Regions from separate parts of the Homo sapiens genome. Here region 1 is linked to region 2. The links are contacts of gene promoters, found by promoter capture Hi-C in blood cells and fetal thymus (Javierre and others, 2016). All regions are on one chromosome and are shown on one strand. The core of a region is centred on a gene start or on the middle of the fragment in contact, and the rest is flanking DNA. Distances in the headings are between cores, read along the strand shown. Region 1 overlaps DNAJC21 (DnaJ heat shock protein family (Hsp40) member C21). Region 2 holds the start of NUP155 (nucleoporin 155).

The links. Contacts are between HindIII fragments. The CHiCAGO score rates a contact against its expected background, and 5 or more counts as called.
Region 1: a contact is called between a fragment that was not itself captured here and the fragment with the promoter of NUP155 in region 2, in 2 of 17 cell types (naive CD4 T cells and total B cells). The highest score is 6.0, in naive CD4 T cells.

What each region holds. Positions count from the first base shown.
Region 1 is chr5:34,941,293-34,946,838 of GRCh38, reverse strand. DNAJC21 (DnaJ heat shock protein family (Hsp40) member C21) reads right to left here. Exons shown (of 12, transcript NM_001012339.3): 8 at 1,814-1,972; 9 at 1,036-1,078. Among named protein-coding and RNA genes, the nearest start is that of DNAJC21, 15 kb to the right of the region's middle. The HindIII fragment of the contact is 3,892 bases long and covers 2,351-5,546 here.
Region 2 is chr5:37,366,900-37,372,409 of GRCh38, reverse strand. It overlaps NUP155 (nucleoporin 155), which reads left to right and starts at 1,304. Exons shown (of 35, transcript NM_153485.3): 1 at 1,304-1,589. The coding sequence starts at 1,433. RefSeq lists enhancers at 1,312-1,401, 1,522-1,631. The HindIII fragment of the contact is 10,669 bases long and covers 294-5,510 here.

The DNA of each region.
Region 1 (5,546 bases), core at 3,047-5,546, 2.4 Mb after region 2:
ATGCTCCATTAATCAAGGTAATACAGGCTCAGGTTAAACATAAATCTCTCTCCATTTATTTTGTCCTTACTGTAATGGTACTGACATACACAAAGGAAAGAGAAAGTGTTCCAAACTAATAATTATAAGGTGTTTGGATGGATGATGGTAGATGTCAATTTATAAAAAGAACACATATTTGCTATGCGGTTTTATAACTGAAGCAAAAAGTTCCAAATTACAATTTTAAGTGATTAACTCATGTGTCATATATCATTTTTTGAATAGGAAACTGATTTTAAAAAAGACTATTAAATATATTATTATAACCATTTGGATAAATAAACCAAATCTGAAGTTTTATTAAAAAGCATTAATGTGTTTTCTTAAAAATATTTAATACTTAATGTAAGTTAATATAACTAGATTATACTAAAATGCCATAAATCCAAATGTCCTTGGTAAAATGGACAAATTCACTTTATTTTTATAGGTATAACAACATAATACCATTTTATTTAAAAATAGTCCTTAAGACAGAGAATGAATTTGGACTTCAGCTGTGAAATATTTAAATTACTTAAACTTCAGAAAAATAGAAACATTTTTTCAAGACTCACAATCATTACAAGTTTCTAACCAAATGTTCCTTTTGCAATGTTTATGTTGTTGGCAGAATAAACTGAGATAAAAAAATGACCAATCCCAGATTTTCCTATTTCAAGATTTTAATTGTTGTCTTGACTTAAAAGCCTTTTGTGAGATGTATTCAGATTTTTAAAATACTGAAAATTCAGCTAATTCATACCAGGGGAATTCTACATGCATACTTGTTAAACACACTGGCAGTCATAATTAAGTTTGTTATTACATACATACAAGGGGGGGGAAGCACTAAAAAAGGAAAATATTTCTAATTCCTTTTTAATCAATCTTACAATCAACATAAAATTATGGAGTATAAGTTTCTCTCCTTAACACAGACTACACTGAATAAATAAGAGCACTGCAACTTTATCGTTGGCATTTAATGTTAACAAAACCTTTCTAACATACCTGTGCTGGTTTCTGTTTCTTTTTCTTCTGTTTTTTAGAAAGCCTAAGAGCAAATATAAATCGAAATGTCAAATACTTGACTCTGTGAAGAGTAAGTGGAAAAAAAAAAAAGTTGAAACACTAGTGATAAAGTAGTAAAACAGAAGTAAAAGATTAAAAATATTTAATATCTTAAAGCATTAAAAGGAAAATAAAGTATTCACATTGTCATTTTAGAGAATAACACAAGGCTGTAGTTCAATGGATAGTAATTAGCTTATCAACTGCCAGGTATAAAAACTGCTTTTAATATAGTGATAATATGTTCTATAAATATTATAGTTGACGTCTGTATCCACTTCAACACTATAAAGTTCCATTAACTAGAAAATATGGAGACAATCTTTTCTAGTTAGAATAACTTCCTTGGGATAAAACAGCCTTTAAGGCCGGGCGCAGTGGCTCACACCTGTAACCCCAGCACTCTGGGAGGCTGAGGCAGGTGAATTACCTGAGATCAGGAGTTCAAGACCAGCCTAGCCAACATGGTGAAACTCTGTCTCAACTAAAAACACAAAAATTAGCTGGGCGTGGTGGTGTGTGCCTGTAGTCCCAGCTACTTGGGAGGCTGAGGGAGGAGAATCACTTGAACCCACAAGTTGGAGGTTGCAGTGAGCTGAGACTGCGCCACTGCACCCCAGCCTGGGCAACAGAGTGATTCTCCATCTCAAAAAAAACCTTTTAATGCAATCTCTGAATGTGATAAGTATTTCTAGTGACATTTAATATTTAGAAGTACTTTTGTTTTGGTGCATCTTCCATTTCTTCCTCAGAATTGTCATCTAATGGATTTTCATCAATTTGAGGTCTTGAAAAATTTTCTTCTTCCTCCTCCAGCTGTTGTTTTAGCAAGGCCACCATTTCCCGATGCTTCTTTGACTTCTCGTGATTCTTCATGCTGAAAGAGCAATCTGACGTGAGCAGCTGCGCTAAAATTAGTTCACGTGTCCAGATAATGTTGCTGGATAACTGCAACCAAGATAAAATTAGCTTTTTTCCCACTAAGCAAAACGTTTCTGATTCTATTTATTTTTTTCTTTTTTTTTATTTGTTCATGATTTTATACAGAGAAACAGAACGTGTCAGGATTCCTTGGCAGTGAGCATACTGGAAGCTCGTGGCCACACTCTTTCTTTCCGTACCACAGCTTTCCCTGTCTTTCTCTGTCCTTTTATCTACATACATTTTCTTCCTTTCTGGGGATGGGGGAATGTCGGCAGGGGGAGGTTTGGACAAATTCTCTACTTATTATTTTGATTTTTCAATTCTTAAAGCTTCCGCCATTGTTTTCTTTTAATCACTAAGTATTTGCTAAGTGTTTTTACATTCCAGGCCATCCCACAGACTTGGAGGGATCACTGGGAAATTAGAAGACACACATTTTAATGTTAAAAGGAAGAGCCCCCTGGACTAGAGAAATGGTGGTGGGAAGGCTTGAAATACAAGAGCAGTTTACTGCCTCTTGCTTTTTCAACAGCTGCTTTTCACCTTCTCAGGAGAGGTCTCCTTTCTCACTCTCACCACCGTAACGTACATTCAGACACATCTCTATCCCTGTGTTCAAAACCCTGCTGGCAATGTCTGTCTCAGCACACCTACAGGCAACTAAAAAGCATTCAACAAAACAGGGTTGACAACATAAGCTACAAGAGTTATATCAACTAAAAAGCAGGAAACTTTGTCAACTATCTACTTCATCTCATCTGTTCAGGCTTTTGGTATTATAGTTTTAGTTGCTGTTTTTCTTTCCTACTAAAATTCTCCTTGAGACCAAGCTGCCCTGGAGATAATGGAAGATCCTGTGTCTGAAAGTAAGTCCTCCAAAAAAGTTATAAGCACATGTCAAAAGGACACAAGGGTGGTTTGAAGGAATGCTCACTAACCAATTCTGGAAAAATTTGAGCATGAAAAGGTCAGTAATGAATTATAAAACACTGAAAAAAAGAAATAAATTCAAACTGATAATAGATAAATGGATAAAAGGGAAGGCTCCTGTTTACAGCAGAAGGCCAAGTGCTAACTGATAAAAACTTGAGGGGGTACTGGCACTGGAAAAGCATCATTCTGCAACCATCATAAAAAAGACTGACGCAAGCTAAAACCATCAACAGATGCTAAAGCTATGAGGAAAACTTTTATGAGAAGCAAGATATCTGCATAGTTTTAAAGTGTCTCCTCACAGATTAAACATGTTACAAGGGAAAACCTGTTGCAAGGGAAAAAATACTAACTCTATAGTAAAATTAGTAGTATAGTAGTAAAATTAGATGACACCTTGATTGGGTGATGAAAATTATCACGACAAATGAGGGGTAGAAGGACTTTACGTGTCTCCAGCTATGAATCCCTGAGAGCACAACATGCTTGTGCGGCGTCCCTCCTGGGGCTGCATAACCTGAATCTAATCATGAGGAAATGCACAAAGACAAAATGAGAAGAATTCTATGAAAAAAGTGAAAACAGTGTACTTCTAAAATGTAAACAGCATAAAAGACAACACAAGCTGTTCCAGATTATGTTCTTAGACTGCATTCTGTATTGGAGAAAAATTCTATATTAATAAATAATTGATTGGCAAAATTGGAATGCAGGTAGTAAATTAGATAAAAATACCATATCAATGTTAATAATTTCTTTTATTTGGTCACTGTAGCATGGTTACATAAGAGAATAACCTTACTTTTTTTTTTTATTTTGAGACGGAGTTTTGCTCTTATTGCCCAGGCTGGAGTGCAATGGCACGATCTTGGCTCACCACAACCTCCGCCTCCTGAGTTCAAGCGATTCTCCTGCCTCAGCCTCCTGAGTAGCTGGGATTACAGGTATGCGTCACCACGCCCAGCTAATTTTGTAGTTTTAGTAGAGACGGGGTTTCTCCATGTTGGTCAGGCTGGTCTCAAACTCCCAACCTCAGGTGATCTGTCCACCTCAACCTCCCAAAGTGCTGGGATTACAGGCGTGAGCCACTGCGCCCAGCGAGAATAACCTTATTCTTAAGATATAGTGAAGTATTTAGAGGTAAAGGAACACTATATATGTAAGTTACTTTCAAATTATTCAGAAAAATACTGTGTGTGTGTTGAGCGTGTAGAGAGAAAGAGGACATGCAAATTGTGCAAAACGTTAGTAACAGGTCAATCAGACACACTATATTCTCTTCTTGCAATTTACCTTTAAGTGTGTCATTTCCAAATAAAAAAAAATTTTTAATCTCCTTCATTGTTGACCTTTTTCTTGCTTGTTTCTAATTTTTCTGCCTCTTTCCACTTCCCCTAGTACTCTGTCATTTCTCCCTGAGGTCATATGGTAATACCATTTATGACTCTCACAGCGCCATTCTCATCCTTTGGCCTCCTTTCTCTCTGATTGCCCATTTTGCTTTTTTTCCCTTGCTGATTCTACTCCCATTTTCTCCCGTGTTGTTTCCTCCCTCCTTTATAATAATGGTATCCGTTTTAATACTTCTTTCTTCATCATTGTTCCCCTAAGATAAAGTTCTTCCACTTCAGCAAAGATACTCTGGGCCAGACAAGTTTAAAGCCCCTATATTGGCAGCATCAGCCTGCATGGGACAATGATGGTGGGAAGTGAGTCTGACACCAATGATGGAGGGAGATGATTAGACACGGTCTAGACTTTTTGCCCATGTGACTATGTCTTCTTTGCCAAAACAAGCAATGCTTCTGGAGACAGTGCATGTGTTTTAAAAGCAGCTATAGGAATACTGGGATGAGTGACAATCAGTACAACAGGTTTAATGGCAGGTACAAATACCTCTTTCTACCCTGCTGGAAAGGAATCCCCCGAGACAGTATGTGGGGCTAGTTATCAACTGCTACAAGCACATTGTTTTTAGAACTTTCAAAATGTTACACTTCACCTCAAAAAAAAACACAAGGGCCAGGCGCTGTGGCTCACGCCTGTAATCCCAACACTTTGGGAGGCCGAGGTGGGTGGATCGCCTGAGGCCAGGAGTTTGAGACCAGCCTGACCAACATGGTGAGACCCTGTCTCTACTAAAAATACAAAAATTAGCTGGGTGCGGTGACCTGCATCTGTAGTCCCAGCTACTCGGGAGCTTGAGGCAGGAGAATCGCTTGAATCCAGGAGGTGGAGGTTGCAGTGAGCTGAGATCGTGCCACTGCACTCCAGCCGGGGCAACAGAGTGAGACTCTGTCTCCAAAAAAAAAAAAAAAAAAAAAAAGAAAACACAAGTTCAGAGATACTAAACTTACTCCTTTTAACTGGATGCAGTGGCTCACGCTTGCAATCCTAGCACTTTGAAAGGCTGAGGCAGGTGGAACACTTGAATCCAGGAGTTCAAGACCAACCTGGACAACATGGCAAAACCCCATCTCCAAAGAAAATATTTAGGTTGGTGCAAAAGTAACTGCAGTTTTTTAGCTGGCCATGATGGCAGGTTCCTGTAGCCCTAGCTACTTGGGAGGCTGACATGGGAGGATCATCTGAGT
Region 2 (5,510 bases), core at 55-2,554:
AACAAACTCGGTGCCAGACCACCACTTTTCAATCTATGGTCTACCAAATAAAGTAAACTCACAGCTAGAGACCCAACTGCCTATCTATATACCAATGATAAAAAATCCAGTTTTTCTTGGTATATTGGCTATGTCAAATTTTAAGTGTAGATTGGTAACATCAAAGAACTTTCAATTTTCAGAAATGTAGTCAAGTCTTTGAGGGAGTAAAAATGTAATTCAAATAGCAAAAGACCAATTTAGAGTAATTCAGTTATTGATTTGTGAAATTCTGAAGAACATAACTGGAAGCTTTCTTAGGTGAGATTCTAAATAAGAGCAGCTTTCTAAAAAGTGCTTTGATTTACCCACTCAGGTTGCCTTCTGTAGTAAATGAAGCCTCTTTTACCTCTCTGCTTTCTCCTATCCTGCTATAGTTTATACCTATCCAAATAGAAAAATTATAATGAAGCCCTTTGTCTCTGCTTGAAGCACCTTAAGGACAGGAAACACTGTGTTAGTTTGATAGTCCCAGCACCAGGCACAAGGCAAGTATTCAGTTTCTTAGGATTGTATGAACTCTTGGGTTCCTATCTCATACGAGTTCCTATACTAGCGCTGGGAATGGAAAGATGAATTAGAACTGTCTGCTATCTCTGCCACGATAAAAAGCACGGCAGCGGTCCACCTGCACTCAGCTTCTTCTTAAACACGTATTTTATACTAAGGGGCAACAAAGTCAAAAGACAGCGACACGCAAATGGAAAAGCCTGATGAATTCTAATTTACACTGAAGCCCGCGAAGAATATAGTGAGATACTGGTTTATATCCCTCTCTGTGACAGCGACCTACCAATTCTTAACTACTCTCACAAAAGCAGTTACTTGGAGAACCAAACTGCGCGCTCATGCGCGAACTCATATAGCTGCAGTTAGCGGATACCGACGCGGGAAGTTCCAAGACTCAGGTCGAGCACGCGCTTAAACCAACGGAACCTGACCAACCTCCTAGGCCAGACACACGACCTAGCTCCCACCTACCGTATCCCTCCTCCCTCCTTCCTCCTCACCCTATCCAACCCCATCCCGCCCCTCTCCTTCCCTGTTCCCTCCCCTTTATCCTTCCCTTCCTTTCCCTCCCTCCCTTCCCTAAATAACCTACCCTAATTTTACCCTGCCACACCCCAAAACCCTCAACCCCCTCGAAAGCATCAGCAGCCTCCTAGCTCCACCCACAACCTCTAGCCCCCTCCCAACAGCTTCCTCTTCCCAGGCCAGAACGGCGTCTTCCAGTTCCCCACCGGATGAAGCGGAAGTGCGTCATGTCGAGGCGCCAAGGCGCTCGTTTGGCGCGCGCGCCCTAGGCGGCGGATCTAAGCTAACTTCTTGGATCTTTTCTTGTTTCTCCTTGGTTTTTGACTTTTTCTGGACCCTGGTGTCTACGATTTCCGAGATGCCGTCTTCTTTGTTGGGCGCGGCGATGCCGGCCTCTACATCTGCCGCAGCCCTGCAGGAAGCTCTGGAAAATGCTGGACGGCTCATCGACCGTCAGTTGCAAGAGGACCGCATGTACCCGGACCTTTCCGAGCTGCTTATGGTGTCTGCCCCAAGTGAGTGATAGTGACCCTGCTTTCTCAACCTAAAGGACTCTCGCCTGACTTCCTAATTTGCTACTTATCCCCAGCGTTGGTCCCGGCGAGGATATGCTGAGATTTATGGCACTGTTGGCTGCATTTTTGGAGAACAGCAAGCAGCTTCTTTTCAGGTTTTTTCCTTTCCTCACTTTCTTCATTGTAGATACTTGAGAGGGCAAGAGTGAAGAGCAAGCTCCCAGTTGAAGCAGAAAGAGGCAAAGACCTCAACCTTAATGAGCTTCTCGCCGCTCTCAAGTGCTTATGGCTAAGGCCATATGAGAAGCATCTCCAGATCCAAGTCCCAAATTTGTTCATTTCTCCTGTTAGTGTTTGAGTAGATCGTAAGAGCAAACGAAGTTAATTTGGAAATTTAGCATGTTATCTTAAAGATACGCTTTGCTTTATATTTATTTGTTTATTTATTGAGACGGAGCGGTTCCCTCTTCGCCCAGGCTGAAGTGCAATGGCGCGATCTCGGCTCATTGCAACCTCCGCCTCCTGGGTTCAAGCGATTCTTCTGCCTCAGACTCCCAAGTAGCTGAGATTACAGGCGCCTGCCACCAAGCCCGGCTAATTTTTGTGTTTTTTAAGTAGAGACGGGGTTTCACCATATTGGCCTGGCTGGTCACGAACTCTGACCTCAAGTGATCCGCCCGCCTCGGCCTCCCAAAGTGCTGGGATTACAGGCGCAAGCCACTGCACCCGGCCAAGAAACGCTTTATTATGTGTAGAGATGTGTGTTATGAAATGCTGGAGGATCTTAAAAGAACTACCAGTGGAATAAAGAAAGAGAACAGGGAAATCACAGTGCTTATGTACAGGGAGAGTAAGGCAGAATATGTGTTGACAATATAGGTGACTGGAAAGTAATTTGTTTAACAGTTTTAAGTTATAACCAGCTCCCCACGGCTTATGGAATTACATCAGTTGCTAGAAAAAGTGACCCCTTTGTGAGATGGAATTTGGAGAAAACCAGCGAAGTGTAAGAAAGAAAAGATTGTTGGTGAGCAAGAACCAAAGTAATCTAAATAGGATAATTTGTGCAGTGTAAACCGAGAACACTTCTGATTATTTATAAAAATCATTGATAGCTTTGTAATCAAAGAAATGATAGAAACAAAGATAGTATTTGCTCCCTACAGCTACTTACCAATGAGCGTGTCTTATAATACCTGATTGGCCTATTAGCAATTATCATCTTGAACAACATTACTCATTTTGGCCTCCTTAGGTGTGAAAACAAGATATAAAAACAGTGCATGCATTCTGGTCCTTCTCTTACATATCTCATGCCTTTACACACACCTTCCTCTTTCACCCAGTCTCTTCCCCTTCTTTTCCATCCAATTTTTCATCCGTTGCTCTGATTACAGAGAATTTAGCATATTTTCCGTAAGAAGCCCCATCTTCAGGATTTCCTCAGGATTTTATCTTACTTTTATTGTTTCTGCAATGTTCTTTTTTTGCCTGACAAACTTTTTCCAGACTCCCTGTGAAAGTCCTTAGTTTCTCTTTGTTGTCTTTCTTTTTCTTGTTCTTTTTTTTTGAGTCAAGGTCTAGTTCTGTTACCAGGCTGGAGTGCAGTGGCATGATCACAGCTCATTGCAGCCTCTAACTCATGAGCTCAAGTGGTCCTCCCGCCTTGCCCTCCCCAGTAGCTGGGACTACAGGCGCCTGCCACCACACCCAGCTAATTTTTAATTTTTATGTAGAGACGTAGTCTCACTCTGTTACAAGGCTGGTCTCAAATTCCTGGCATCAAGCAGTCCTCCTACCTCAGCCTTCCAAAGTGCTGAGATTACAGATGTAAGTCACACTCCTGGCCTGAAGTCTTTCGTAGCATTCCCATCCTCACTAAAGTTATCGATTCCTCCCTCTGTGTTCCCACTGCCATTTAACATGGTGATCTGCCACCTTCGGCCTATTAAAGTTATGTTTTAGGATTAAATGGGATGTCTGGATTTGCTTTATTTATTTATTTTTTGAGACAGAGTCTTACTGTCACCCAGCCTGGAGTGCAGTTGGCATAATCTTGGCTCACTACGGCCTCCACCTCCCAGGTTCAAGCGATGCTCCTGCCTCAGCCTCCTGAGTAGCTGGGATCATAGGTGTTCGCCACTGGCTCATTTTTCTATTTTTAGTAGAGACAGGGTTTCACCGTGTTGGCCAGGTTGGTCTTGATCTCCTGACCTCATGTGATCCGCCCGCCTCGGCCTCCCAAAGTGTTGGGATTACAGGTGTCACCCACTGTGCCCAGCCTGGATTTGCTTTAATATGAATTCAGCCCAATAGTCTCAGCACTTTGGGAGGCCAAAGTGGGCAGATTACTTGAGCCCAGAAGTTTGAGACCAGTCTTGGCAATATGGCAAAACCCAGCCTCTTAAAGAAAAGAAATACAATAATACAAAAATTAGCTTGGCATGGTGACACACACTTGGACCCCCAGCTACTTGGGAGGCTGAGGTGGGAGGATAACTTGAGACGGGGAGGTTGAGACTGCAGGGAGCTGTGATTGCGCCGCTGCACTCCAGCCTGGGCAACAGAGTGAGACCCTGTCTCAAAAAAAAAAAAAAAAAAAAAAAAAAAAGGCCTGGCGCTGTGCCTCATGCCTGTAATCCTAGCAATTTGGGACCTGGAAGTGGGGTGGATCACTTGAGCTTGAGTTTGAGACCAGCCTGAGTGAGCAACATGGCAAAACCCTGTCTCTACAAAAAGTGGCTGGGTGCGGTGGCTCACGCCCATAATCCCAGCACTTTGGGAGGCTGAGGTGGCAGATCACGAGGTTAGGAGTTCAAGACCAGCCTGACCAACGTGGTAAAACCCCGTCTCTACTAAAAATACAAAAATTAGCTGGGTGTGGTGGCTCATGGCTGTAATCCCAGTTATTCAGGAGGCTGAGGCAGGACAATCGCTTGAACCAGGGAGGCGGAAGTTGCAGTGAGCCGAGATCGCGCCACTGTACTCCAGCCAGGGCAATAGAGGGAGACTCTTTCTCAAAAGAAATGGGAGGCCCAGGTGGGCGGATCACGAGGTCAGGAGATGAGACCATCCTGGCTAACATGGTGAAACCCCCATCTCTACTAAAAATACAAAATAATTAGCCGGGCGTGGTGGCGGGCGCCTATAGTCCCAGCTACTCCGGAGGCTGAGACAGGAGAATGGTGTGAACCCGGGAGGCGGAGCTTGCAGTGAGCCGAGATCGCGCCACTGCATTCCAGCCTGGGCGACAGAGTGAGACTCCGTCTCAAAAAAAAAAAAAAAGGAAAAAGAAAAATGCTGTTTGGCTGGGCTCGGTGGTTTACTCCTGTAATCTCAGCAATTTGGGAGGCAAAGGTGAGTGGATCACTTGAGGTCAGGAGTTTGAGACTAGCCTGGCCATCATGGCGAAATCCTGTCTCTACTAAAAATACAAAAATTAGCCGGGTGTGGTGGCACACTCCTGTAGTCCTGGCATCTCGGGAGGCTGAGGCAGGAGAATCTCTTGAACCTGGGAGGCAGAGGTTGCAGTGAGCCGCCATTGCACTACAGCCTGGGCGACAGAGCGAGAGCCCATCCCAAAAAAAAACCCCAAAAACAAAAAAAAAATTAGCTAGGCATGGTGTCATGACACTGTAGTCCTAGCTACTCACGAGGCTGTGGTGGAAGATTGCTTGAGCCCAAGAGGCTGAGGTTGCCCTGAGCTGTGATTGCACCACTGCATTCCAGCCAAGGCGACAGAGTGAAACCCCGTCTCAGGAAAAAAAAAAAAAGAGAAAAAGAGTTCGGCCGGGTGCAGTGGCTCACATCTGTAATCCCAGCACTTTGGGAGGCCAAGGCAGGCGGATTACGAGGTCAAGAGATTGAGACCGGCCGGGCACGGTGGCTCACGCCTGTAATCCCAGCACTTTGGGAGGCCGA